Regions from separate parts of the Homo sapiens genome. Here all the other regions are linked to region 3. The links are contacts of gene promoters, found by promoter capture Hi-C in blood cells and fetal thymus (Javierre and others, 2016). All regions are on one chromosome and are shown on one strand. The core of a region is centred on a gene start or on the middle of the fragment in contact, and the rest is flanking DNA. Distances in the headings are between cores, read along the strand shown.

Region 1 (3,060 bases), core at 477-2,976, 1.0 Mb before region 3:
TTGTTTGCTAAAGTGACTGGCACACTATAGGCATTAAATCGATATTTGTAGATTGGATGAATTTTTTTGGAGCGGAGGTGGGGTGTAGGGTACAGATTGGTACCTGGTGATTCTTCAAAAGATGTGGGAAAGAGCACCCAGCAGTAAGCAAGCAACCTAATTTCATGGATATTGACTTGCAAAGACTCTTCTGAACAAGCAGAGAGGGGTTGTGAAGGTAGCAACTGGCAGCATGCCCATGGAAATCAGCTCCTGTGCCACAAGCCACACAGATGGTTGAGGTCTGATCTCTCACAAGTCTCTGCACAAACAACACACTCTTCTCTACCAGAACAGGAAATGTTAGTGGTTGAGTTAGCGGTTATGAGTCTGAGGTCTCACCAGATTTTTGCCACCCTGCAGCTACTCCAGTCCAGCCCATGGTTGCCATTTTTGGCAACATCCTAATACCTCAACTCTTCAGTCCACCCCACATACCTCCAGGCCGGGGAAAGAAGTCCATCAACATAACTCACAAGGGAATGTGCCTGGGGATTCCAGGTCCTAAAGCCCTTACCCTGGGGGTCGTGGTGATGATAGTGGTTGGGTGGGGAATGACTTTAATACTCAGTGTCACTGTTCCTGTCTCAACAAGAGCCTCCGCTTTCTTCCTGTCAGACATCAAGTTGTCATCAGTTACGTAGACAAGTAGCTTGTAGTCCCAGATCTTATCAAACCCACCAGCATAGTCAAAGCGAGATGTAAGCAGCAGGCGTGTGACATTGGAACCAGCATTGGGAGAGAAGGTGAAATGATTGTTGACGTTACCTAAATGAGATTTGATGCAGGGGTGTTGGTAAAAGGAAGAAAAGAGAGTAAGAAATAAAGGTTTAGAAGAAAACTGCATTCAATCTTTTTCTCAAATGTCCACACCTCAAGTGTAGACTGTGTCTCTGATACACCAGAGCTGGATTAGTTATATGCTACAGGCTTTAACTGCACCAGAGATGGCATTAGTACAAAGAAACTCTTGCTCACAACCAGTGTGGCTGCAAACAAGGCTGAGTAGAAAAGGACAATAGTACAACACCCTTAGCCTAGGTGCCATCTTGCTGAGTATTAAGCAGAGACTTTGTAACCCTGGTGCAGCCCCTTCTGATTTCTCATCCGGCAATTATTTGGTAACAACACGTGTAATTCACACTCAAACAAATGAGTGGGTTTCAAGAGGGTAGAATAGGTCACATCCCTAGCCATAGGCCAAGTTCACTGCATGCTTTTCACAGGACCCAGTGGGTCACACTGGTTATGGCTGTCCCTGGAGTCCTCCAAAGGAAGGTGCCTCCTGGCTTTGCGGGAATTGCAGTCCCAGGTCCTCCTGAACCCACCCCATCACACCCCCAAACACACACACAGCTCTGCTGGGGCTCATGGCTCAGCTCAGGGAGCCTGGGGCAGAGAGGCTGCCAGCCCAAGCACATGCCCGCTCATTCCTCCACTGGCTCCAGACTCATTACCGACTGAACACCAGTAAATGGAGCAGGAGATGATGCAATTTTTGCTCCCTTAACAGCAAAATGCTCCATAAAGGCCTTAGGGCTCTCAGTATGGATTGTTTCCATCTTCGGCAACTGCAGTCTCGAGGCAGTTTCTGCCCCTGGGTTTTGTGACACAGCCAGCTCGAGAGGCTTCCTACTGTTCAAGTTCCTGCTCGGCCAAGGGCACAGCAGGCAGCAGGGATGGATTTTTACTCTCTCACGTGGAATTGTTCTGCTTGTTTGGGTTTAAATCTCTGGCCCCAGCACTTCATTAGATGAGCTATTTTGGTCTAATTTCCATTGAGGGGTGCTCTTTTTTCCCTACGATGGTATATTTTTAAAGACAGAAGATGAATGGAGCAGAAGAGAATTCCTGAGGACACGTTTCAAAACGCACTTAATCTATTTAATCTATTATTATCCAGAGAGAGGACTGGGATTCCCTGCCCCCACTACCAGCTTTCAGGAAAAGAGGTGGTCGAAAAGTTGGACTGCATTTTTTCTAACAACACTAATATGCTTTATGACTCATACTGTAGTCAGGAATTGGGGGGTTCACCCTTTTCTTGGGCCTTTGGGCAGTCACGTATGGGGTCTGGGAGGAGTAAGACAAGAAGGGGAAACTGAGAGGAGTGCCAGGAAGCATAGGGGCTGCTAGATTTTGTGTCTCTGCTTTCCTCATTCAAATACTTCCCCAGCAAGCTGGGTGCAATGAGGCATGCCTGTAGTCTCAGCTACTTGGGAGGCTGAGCAGGAGGATTACTTGAGCCCAGGGGTTCAAAACTAGCCTAGGCAGCATAGCAAGACCCTATCTCAAAAAAATAATGCCCTCCCAACTCCCATCCCACTTTGCCCAGATCAGTGTGTGAGCACAGACCCCTACCCTAGACAACTTCAGGGTCCTCAGAGACAGGGCCAGGATTGTCGACACCAAGTACTATACCTGGGCCAATGGAATAACGGAAAGATCTGGGGCTGGAATCAAGGTCGGTACATGTCAGCTTGAAATTCTGAATATTTGTGCCAACTTTCAGATCCACTGGGAGGGCCAGGAAATAAGAGTTTGGAGTACAAATTGGCTTTTCATCATTTTCTTCAAGGATGTTCACAGTAACCTAGAGTAGCAAGAAGGTGGTCATTCTCAATAGCTAAAACTCATTGAGTGCTTACTGTGTGTAGGCAGTTTTCAGGCTAAGCACTTTTCATAAATTAGCTCATTTAAACTCACATGAGATAGCTAACATGATTATTCCCATTTTATGGTGAGAAAATGGAAGTTTAGAGAGACTAGGTAATTGATCTAAGATCATTCAGCTAGTGAATGGCAGAGTTGGGATTTGAATTCAGGTCTGTCCTACTCCAAATCCTATGCTATTAACTTCTACACCATATGCATGTGTGTGTGCACATTTAGTGTATGTATACCTTGCCCCCCCCCCACACACACACACATGCACCTGGACACATAGGCTCACCTGCAGATGACACCGAGTTGTTTTTCCAGGAAGGTGTGGATTTACGGTGTCTCCATGTGCCACCTTGC
Region 2 (3,359 bases), core at 643-3,142, 1.1 Mb before region 3:
TTGAGCCACTGTGCCTGGCCAAACATTACTTTTTATAATAAGACGAATATTTTTTTCTGAAATAAGGCCCAATGAAGCCCACCTTGTTTGTGTTTAAGAAGCCATGACCAAAAAGAGCACTACCCATTCCTGCCCAGGCTTGTTGCAGTCACCCATTTAATCGCTCATTCAACTTGAGTGTACTTATGGGGCTCTGGCCAACTGCCAGATGAGAAAGACGCAAGCCCCTCTCAGGAACTCACAGTGTAGCGAGGAGGTAATAGGTTAATGCGTGGTTTCCAGGGAGAAGTTGGAGCTCAGATAGGGGTCAGCAGGAGTGGTTAGGGAAGCCCAGAGAAAAGACCCCAACCCAGCTAGGCACAGCTAAAGAGAGACAGTAGGCACTGCACTGGGGGAAGGAGAGAACTCGTCTACCAAGCAGGTACACTGCCCTGGTCAGGGCTTGCCTGCCCTGGCCTCTGTTTCTTCACCTGCCAGATAGGCAGTTAGAGCAGTGACTCTAAGCCCCTGCCAGACTGATATGTCTGTGGCTCCCTTCACCCACATCTCTGCAGAGCTCAGTAGCTCTCAAAAGGTAGAGCCCAGCCTCAGGGCAGCGCGGTGGTGTATGCTGGGGCTGGGATGTGTCAGGGTCATCCTAACTCCAGGATGCAAAGGTGGCCATTGCTGGCCCCAGGGTTTCATAAATTGCTCCGCACGTGGAGAGTCTGGTGTTGGCAGCATTGGTTCTGATATCCTGCCAACTGAGCATGACGCACAGGCCAGGTGGAATTCAGGGCATGTGCTCACGGAGGAACCACCGTGGATTCTGGCTGTGGCAAAGGTGCTGCAGATTTGCGCCTCAGTTGATTTGTTCCAGGATGGCGAGCACCATGGCCAGCCACACCCCAGGGAACATTCCCCCTGCTCCCTCAGCACCCAGCAGCCTCGCAGCCCAGCAGCCCAGCCCCGCAGCCCTCTCTGGCCATTGATTGCTTAGGCAGTACCTGAAAGAAATCTCACCTCATCTGGTCAGCTAGCCTGGGCTTATCTGTAGGGAATTTCACATCCGCTTCCCCCACCAAAAGACACACATCATTTTGTGTAAATGTGAAACTTCAGGGACTCTTGCCTCATAAATGCATGTGTTTTTTTCTTGTATGCAGTGCTATTTTCAAGACCAATATTTAAGTCTTTCTGATGAATTCCTGCCCATCTGTCAAGATTTAGCTTGAATGGCCTCCTCCTACCCATTCTATGGGCTCCCATAGTCCTTTGTGCACTAGAGCTTGAGAGCACAGCCTTGCAATTTATCTGCTGACACGTCCATCTCACCAGCTGGTCCTGAGCAGATTCTCAAGGGCGGGAACCTTACAGTGGCGGGCTTCCATCACCTAATACTAAGGCCTCTGCTGACACCAAAACTCTGTAAATGTTGCAGTCAATTCTAAGTGTCTTTTTCTCAACTGTTCTCATCTTACTTTTTATGGTTTCAATGCCTTCCACAATGGTTTACTCTCTTATTTAGACTTCATCTATCTCACTGAATGGTGGTGTTGGGTCACCTGGGGTCAGAAAACCAGTGCAAAAATGCTGCCACTCTGGCTGTTACTATTACTGGAAGTGAAGAAACTGTCCTTCTTCTCTGACCCAGGAGCCTCATGTCTTCTACCAACATCCGTGAAATTTTGGCATGTGTGATTATTACCTGCACATGAGATAAGATCTCAGTTCTTGATGGTATGGAATGCTGCAGGGAGAGGAAGTGTGCGTGCACAGGCCCAGAGGCCTAGGGGAGCCCAGCCTGCTCTCGGAACTGCCAGGAGAGCAGATGACTGTGGCACACCCTTGCTGTGTGGGGTGGCAAGCAGCCTCTTCCTTCAGGCTTCTGCCCAAATGTGATCTCATTAGAATGGCCTTCCTTAACCATCCCAGCTGACACAGAATCCCACATCACTCCCTGTCTCCTATCTTGCTTTTCTGTCTTTCACATGTATACCACATCATCTCATATATTTGTTTGTTTGTTGTCTGTACTTCCCTACAAAATGGCAAATCCCATCGGCGAAGGAACTTTGTTTCATTCACTGCTGTAATTAATTCTACCACTTAGGACAGTGCCCCGCATAGAGAGATGAGGCTGTCAGGACAGGCAAGCCTGGTTTGCATCATGGGTTACAGCCTGTAAGCCATGCCAGGAGCCTGGGTGAATCCTGGGAGGTTTAGAAATTCTTTTAAGTATTCTATGATTTGCATTTTAGGGCCATGATCCCTTCAGCAGCTGGCAAGTTCATTGAAGGGAGGGCAAGACCACAGGAGTCTGGGAGAGCAGGTGGGAGGTGGGCGCATCATCTAGAAGGAGGATGTTAGTGTGGATTTAAGACACTGGGCTGGAGAGGAGTGGAGGAGTGTTAAAGCTATCAAGTAAGGAGAATTGACAGGGCTTGGTGATTGATTGGATGTAGAATGCAGGGGAGTAGTGGTCACAGATGGTGATTTGGGTGACTGGCAAATGGTTTAGGGGGGTTCAGAGGAAATGGGGGGTATACTTAGAGATAGGATGTTCAACTGGGGCAAAAGTTTGACTTACTATTATCTGCTGAACCGTGAGAAGAGCTGTTATCCTGTGATCATTTCTCGACATCAATCCGATGGCAAGTAGTCTGTTGCTGGTGCCAGGGTCAGAATGTGGGAGTGTCTTAGTCCTGCGGTTCACAGACCCCAAAGGAGAAGCAGGTTACAGGGATTTCTGGTAGTTGTTTCTGATGCCAGCTCCAGGTTAGACAGTCCTCATTCAACCTGACCCTTTAACACTTCTCCAATTTCTGTTTTTCAATATTTTTACGTTTTTAATTTATGTCCCATAAAATGCACAATTTTGAGCGCACATCACTGTGAATGTTTATCTACGCATACACCCATGTAACTACCCAAACCAAGATTCGCAACATTTCCACAGCCCCAGAAAGCTATCTGTGCCCCTTCCAAGTCCAAAGTAAGCATGCTTACCCAAAGGTAACTGCTATCTGACTTCCGTCATCTAGGATTAACATTGCTGATTCTTGAACTCCATTATAAATAGAATTACACAATATGTACTTTTTTATCTGTGTCTTGTTTCTTTCAACATCATGACTGTGAGGTTCACATTTCAAAAATTTGCTGTTTTTATAACTGTGTAATATTCCATCGTATAAATATGCCATAATTTGTTTACCATTCTCCTGTTGATGGGCATCTGGGTTGTTTGGAATAAAGCTGCAATAAACTTTCTTGTCCAAGTCCTTTTTGCAGCTGCTGTCTTTTGGCAATTCCAGGAAGGCCTGTGTTTTGTGTATGTGGATGCGTATTATTAAAGGAAAACCTTCTTGACAAGGCCT
Region 3 (3,263 bases), core at 458-2,957:
TGTAATTTGCAGTAAAAAATCAACACATTTTTGTAACTGGCTCGGGGAAGGAAAAACAGCCCAGTCTTTTCATGTAAACATAATAAGCCTGTAATATGCTGCAGACAAACGCACTGCATGGGGTGTGGAGGACCCGAGCTGATTAGATTACCACAACATCAGCCTGGGGCCGCCATTTTTAGAATCTGTAAAGGACAAAAGAGGGAAATTTCAGTTTTTACTCCCCATCTCAGAAATTGAAGGAAAAAAACAGACTATTTTCCAAATAGGTATTCATGTCTCCAGCCTCGAGTTGAATGCACCTCACTTAATTCTCTCCAAGGTCTCCAGAACTCCAAACACCTTACCTTATTCACATCTCTAAAAAGGGAACAAAATAGGCAAAACGAGGTTTACTCTAGAGCTAACTCTAGCGATTCCTCTTTGACTTTAAATTGTATCGTTCTTAAGACAGAGCCCAGCAAGGACGGATCTATACGGAACTAAGGCCAGTAGAAGAGAGCACTCTGGATTGTTTTTTTCTCACCCCCACCCCGTTTAGCACAGTGAACCGTTTGTTTCTCATCTGTGTCTGCTGCCATAGAATTTGTGCCAATCCCTTGGTCAAAATAAGCTTTTCTGAAATGAGCCATATTGTAGATCCTAAGGCTCCGGCACAGTAAAGGACGGCGGTAATGCAAAAGGAGTGGGGGAGGAGACTGAGAAGGCTGGGTACTGGGGTGACCACTTCAGGGGCGGGTTTACCCTCTCCAGGAGAGGATGAGGAGCTAGCTGTCTCGCTCTCCCACAAAGAGAGATGCCCAGGGCGTTCTTCTTACCCCCTTCGTATTCATGTGCACATTATACCAGAGACTGCCCGTCAAGAAATGGAAGAAGAAAATGGGGCCTATATGGCTTTTCAGCACCTGAACAAGACGCGGTTGAGAAAAGGGAGCGCTGGCAGCTCCTGGGACCACTTCGACACAAACCCTACTAACAGTCACAAGCCTCCGTCTTCACTCAAGCGGCCTTAACCCGCTGCCAATGAGGAGTGCGCCCCCTCCCTAACTCCCCCACTCTCAAGGGGGTTTAACTGCCAGTTACCCCTTTCCCAACCCTAAAACCCGCCATAATGCTCCATTTCTAGGGTCAGGGAGAAGAAAGAATAAATTCGATTTAAGCAAGCAACGTCTTGCGCCGGCAAAGACACCTGAGAGTCAACGTCGGCTCCCCCAGCTTAAGGATAAAGATGAGAGACCTCCCTCCCCCTTGAAACACAAGTACCCCAACCCCGCAAGCCCCAGGAACTCCCATGGAGACGACAGGCACTAACCTGTGATGTTCACACACGAGACACCCGAACCCCGTTATGTGCTCGACCCCCAAGGAGTCTCTCCGCACCTCCGCGAACAGGCGACCCCCCGACAGCAGCCACTGCGGACACAGGACCCGGCTCCACACACCCCCTCCCCAAACAGCAGCGCGCAGCCTCTTCACCAGGAACCGAGGAGTAGGGGAGGGGGCAGCCAGGCAGTCAACAGGAACGCAGAGACGACGGCGAGGCTGCTCGGAGTGTCTATGCCCACTCTGTTGCCGCTCCCGAACTCCGGCACGGTCTCCGACTCGGCCCCCTGCGCCCGCTCAGTGTCACTGCCTCTCGCTCTGGGAAAATGGCGGCGGCGGCGGCGGCGGCCGCGGCGGCGGCGGCGGCGGCGGCAAGTGCACGGGGTACGCCCGTCCCGCTCCGCAGGGGCAGAGGGGGAGGGGATGAAGCTGCCCGGCGCCATTTTGCTTGTGGGCTGCCGCCCGCCGTTGCCTCTCCGCGGAGGCTCGAAGATAGCAAACTGGAGGCGGTGAGGGGGACGGAATCTCTGTCTTTCTGACAACAGATGCATTCAACAATCCACCGAAGGTTTGAGGAAGTGTCGGTATTCGGTGGGACTGGTTCTTTCCCCCTTTCCCCCAGTGGCCCTCAAGTCTGGATATAGGTGAGCTTGGGCATGCCAGTATTGGGTGCACGAACAAGGACAGCAGGGCTTGGGAACGAACTCCCTCCCGTCACCCTCCGAAAGCGATACACCTTCTCCCCCTCCCAAACAACCCCAGTCCCGTCTCCCCGTTCCTCTCCCCCTCCTCCCCCAGCCCAGTCTGGCCTCCAGCGCTGGGTGAACCCGGTTGGGGTGTCACTCGACGCCCACTAGGGGCTGAGGAGGCTCCAGTGCGCAGGCTCCGGGCACCGGATAAAAGCGGAGCTGGCGAGTCTAGTGCTGTCTCGATGGAGGAGCAAGAAACGGAAGAGGTCGGGGGGAGAAGCAGCCGGAAAAATGCAGCCACCGTCAACGCCGCCTCCCTGCCACCGTGCTTCGGGGTAAAAAGCTGCCGTTGCCGTCGGTGCAGTTGCCGTCGCTGCCTCCTATACTTCTCTTGGCCTCGGGGAAGGATTTCCCCACCGGTGGGACAATGTGCGGGGAGGGGAGTGGGAATTCCTTTATATGGCGGTGATTAAACGAGGGAGGGACAGACAGTGATCTCGAAGAAAAAAGGGGGAGACCAAAGAATAAAAGAAGGGTTTCCCCACTAAAATGACACGGCGATTCCGGCTCTTGTTTTGGGGGTCTTTCCCCGAAATGGTTTCCGTCTTCCCCTTGCCCCGCAGCGACCCAGAGCGCTGGGGGAAGCGGAGTGGGGAGAGGCAGAGGCGGTCTCGGCAGCCAATCAGCGCCTGATGTGTCCTGTCGGGCGCGTCGTGGTTGGCTGGCGATGACCTCATCCTGCAGCAGCGGGTGGGGCCAAAGCCGTAGGGGGAGGCTGTTGCAAAGGTAGAGAGGGAGAAGTGACGATGGTGATCGTTGCTGCCGCGGCCGATATGGAACCCAAGCAGTGGCGAAGGGAATCGCAAGGCTCTTCCCTGACCATTTTCTACTGTCCCTGCGCGAGGTGAGGGCCCCGGCTCGGCCTCTGCAAAACTTTGGGGCGCTGGCGCGGAGGAGGAGACAGGATTTCTCCCGTGACTTTTGTAACTGCGTCAGGGCAAGATGGCGCTGGGTCTCTTTGGGGCGCGGGGGGAGAGGCACGTCCACCGCCGCAGCGCATGTGACCGGGCTGCATTCCTGTGGGGTTTGGCTCCGACCCAGGCCGGGGCGGGGGAGGGGACAGGGCTTGGGCGGAGGAGACTGTGGTGCGGTCGGCGTTGGCGGCCTGAAGAGGAAGAGATGACTGTTGGAAAGCGTTCCCCTCCCCCATACGGCAGAACAGCTGCGGCTCCCAGGGGAAAGCCCCCGCAG

The links. The method cuts DNA at HindIII sites, captures the fragments that hold promoters and counts their contacts. A CHiCAGO score of 5 or more calls a contact.
Region 1: a fragment that was not itself captured here is called in contact with the fragment with the promoter of KMT2E-AS1 in region 3 in 1 of 17 cell types (non-activated CD4 T cells); the score reaches 5.4 in non-activated CD4 T cells.
Region 2: a contact is called between a fragment that was not itself captured here and the fragment with the promoter of KMT2E-AS1 in region 3, in 3 of 17 cell types (fetal thymus, total B cells and naive B cells). The highest score is 7.5, in fetal thymus.

Annotation. Positions count from the first base shown.
Region 1 is chr7:106,019,945-106,023,004 of GRCh38, reverse strand. CDHR3 (cadherin related family member 3) reads right to left here. Exons shown (of 19, transcript NM_152750.5): 13 at 2,461-2,632; 14 at 557-807. Among named protein-coding and RNA genes, the nearest start is that of CDHR3, 58 kb to the right of the region's middle. The HindIII fragment of the contact is 3,503 bases long and covers 1-3,060 here.
Region 2 is chr7:106,067,631-106,070,989 of GRCh38, reverse strand. No RefSeq gene overlaps it. Among named protein-coding and RNA genes, the nearest start is that of SYPL1, 43 kb to the left of the region's middle. The HindIII fragment of the contact is 5,331 bases long and covers 1-3,359 here.
Region 3 is chr7:105,012,585-105,015,847 of GRCh38, reverse strand. KMT2E-AS1 (KMT2E antisense RNA 1) reads left to right here and starts at 1,707. Exons shown (of 1, transcript NR_024586.1): 1 at 1,707-3,263. KMT2E (lysine methyltransferase 2E (inactive)) reads right to left here and starts at 1,643. Exons shown (of 27, transcript NM_182931.3): 1 at 1,313-1,643. RefSeq lists enhancers at 1,324-1,553, 1,814-1,933, 2,254-2,303, 2,095-2,634, 2,724-3,093 and silencers at 1,614-1,703, 2,054-2,103. The HindIII fragment of the contact is 4,615 bases long and covers 616-3,263 here.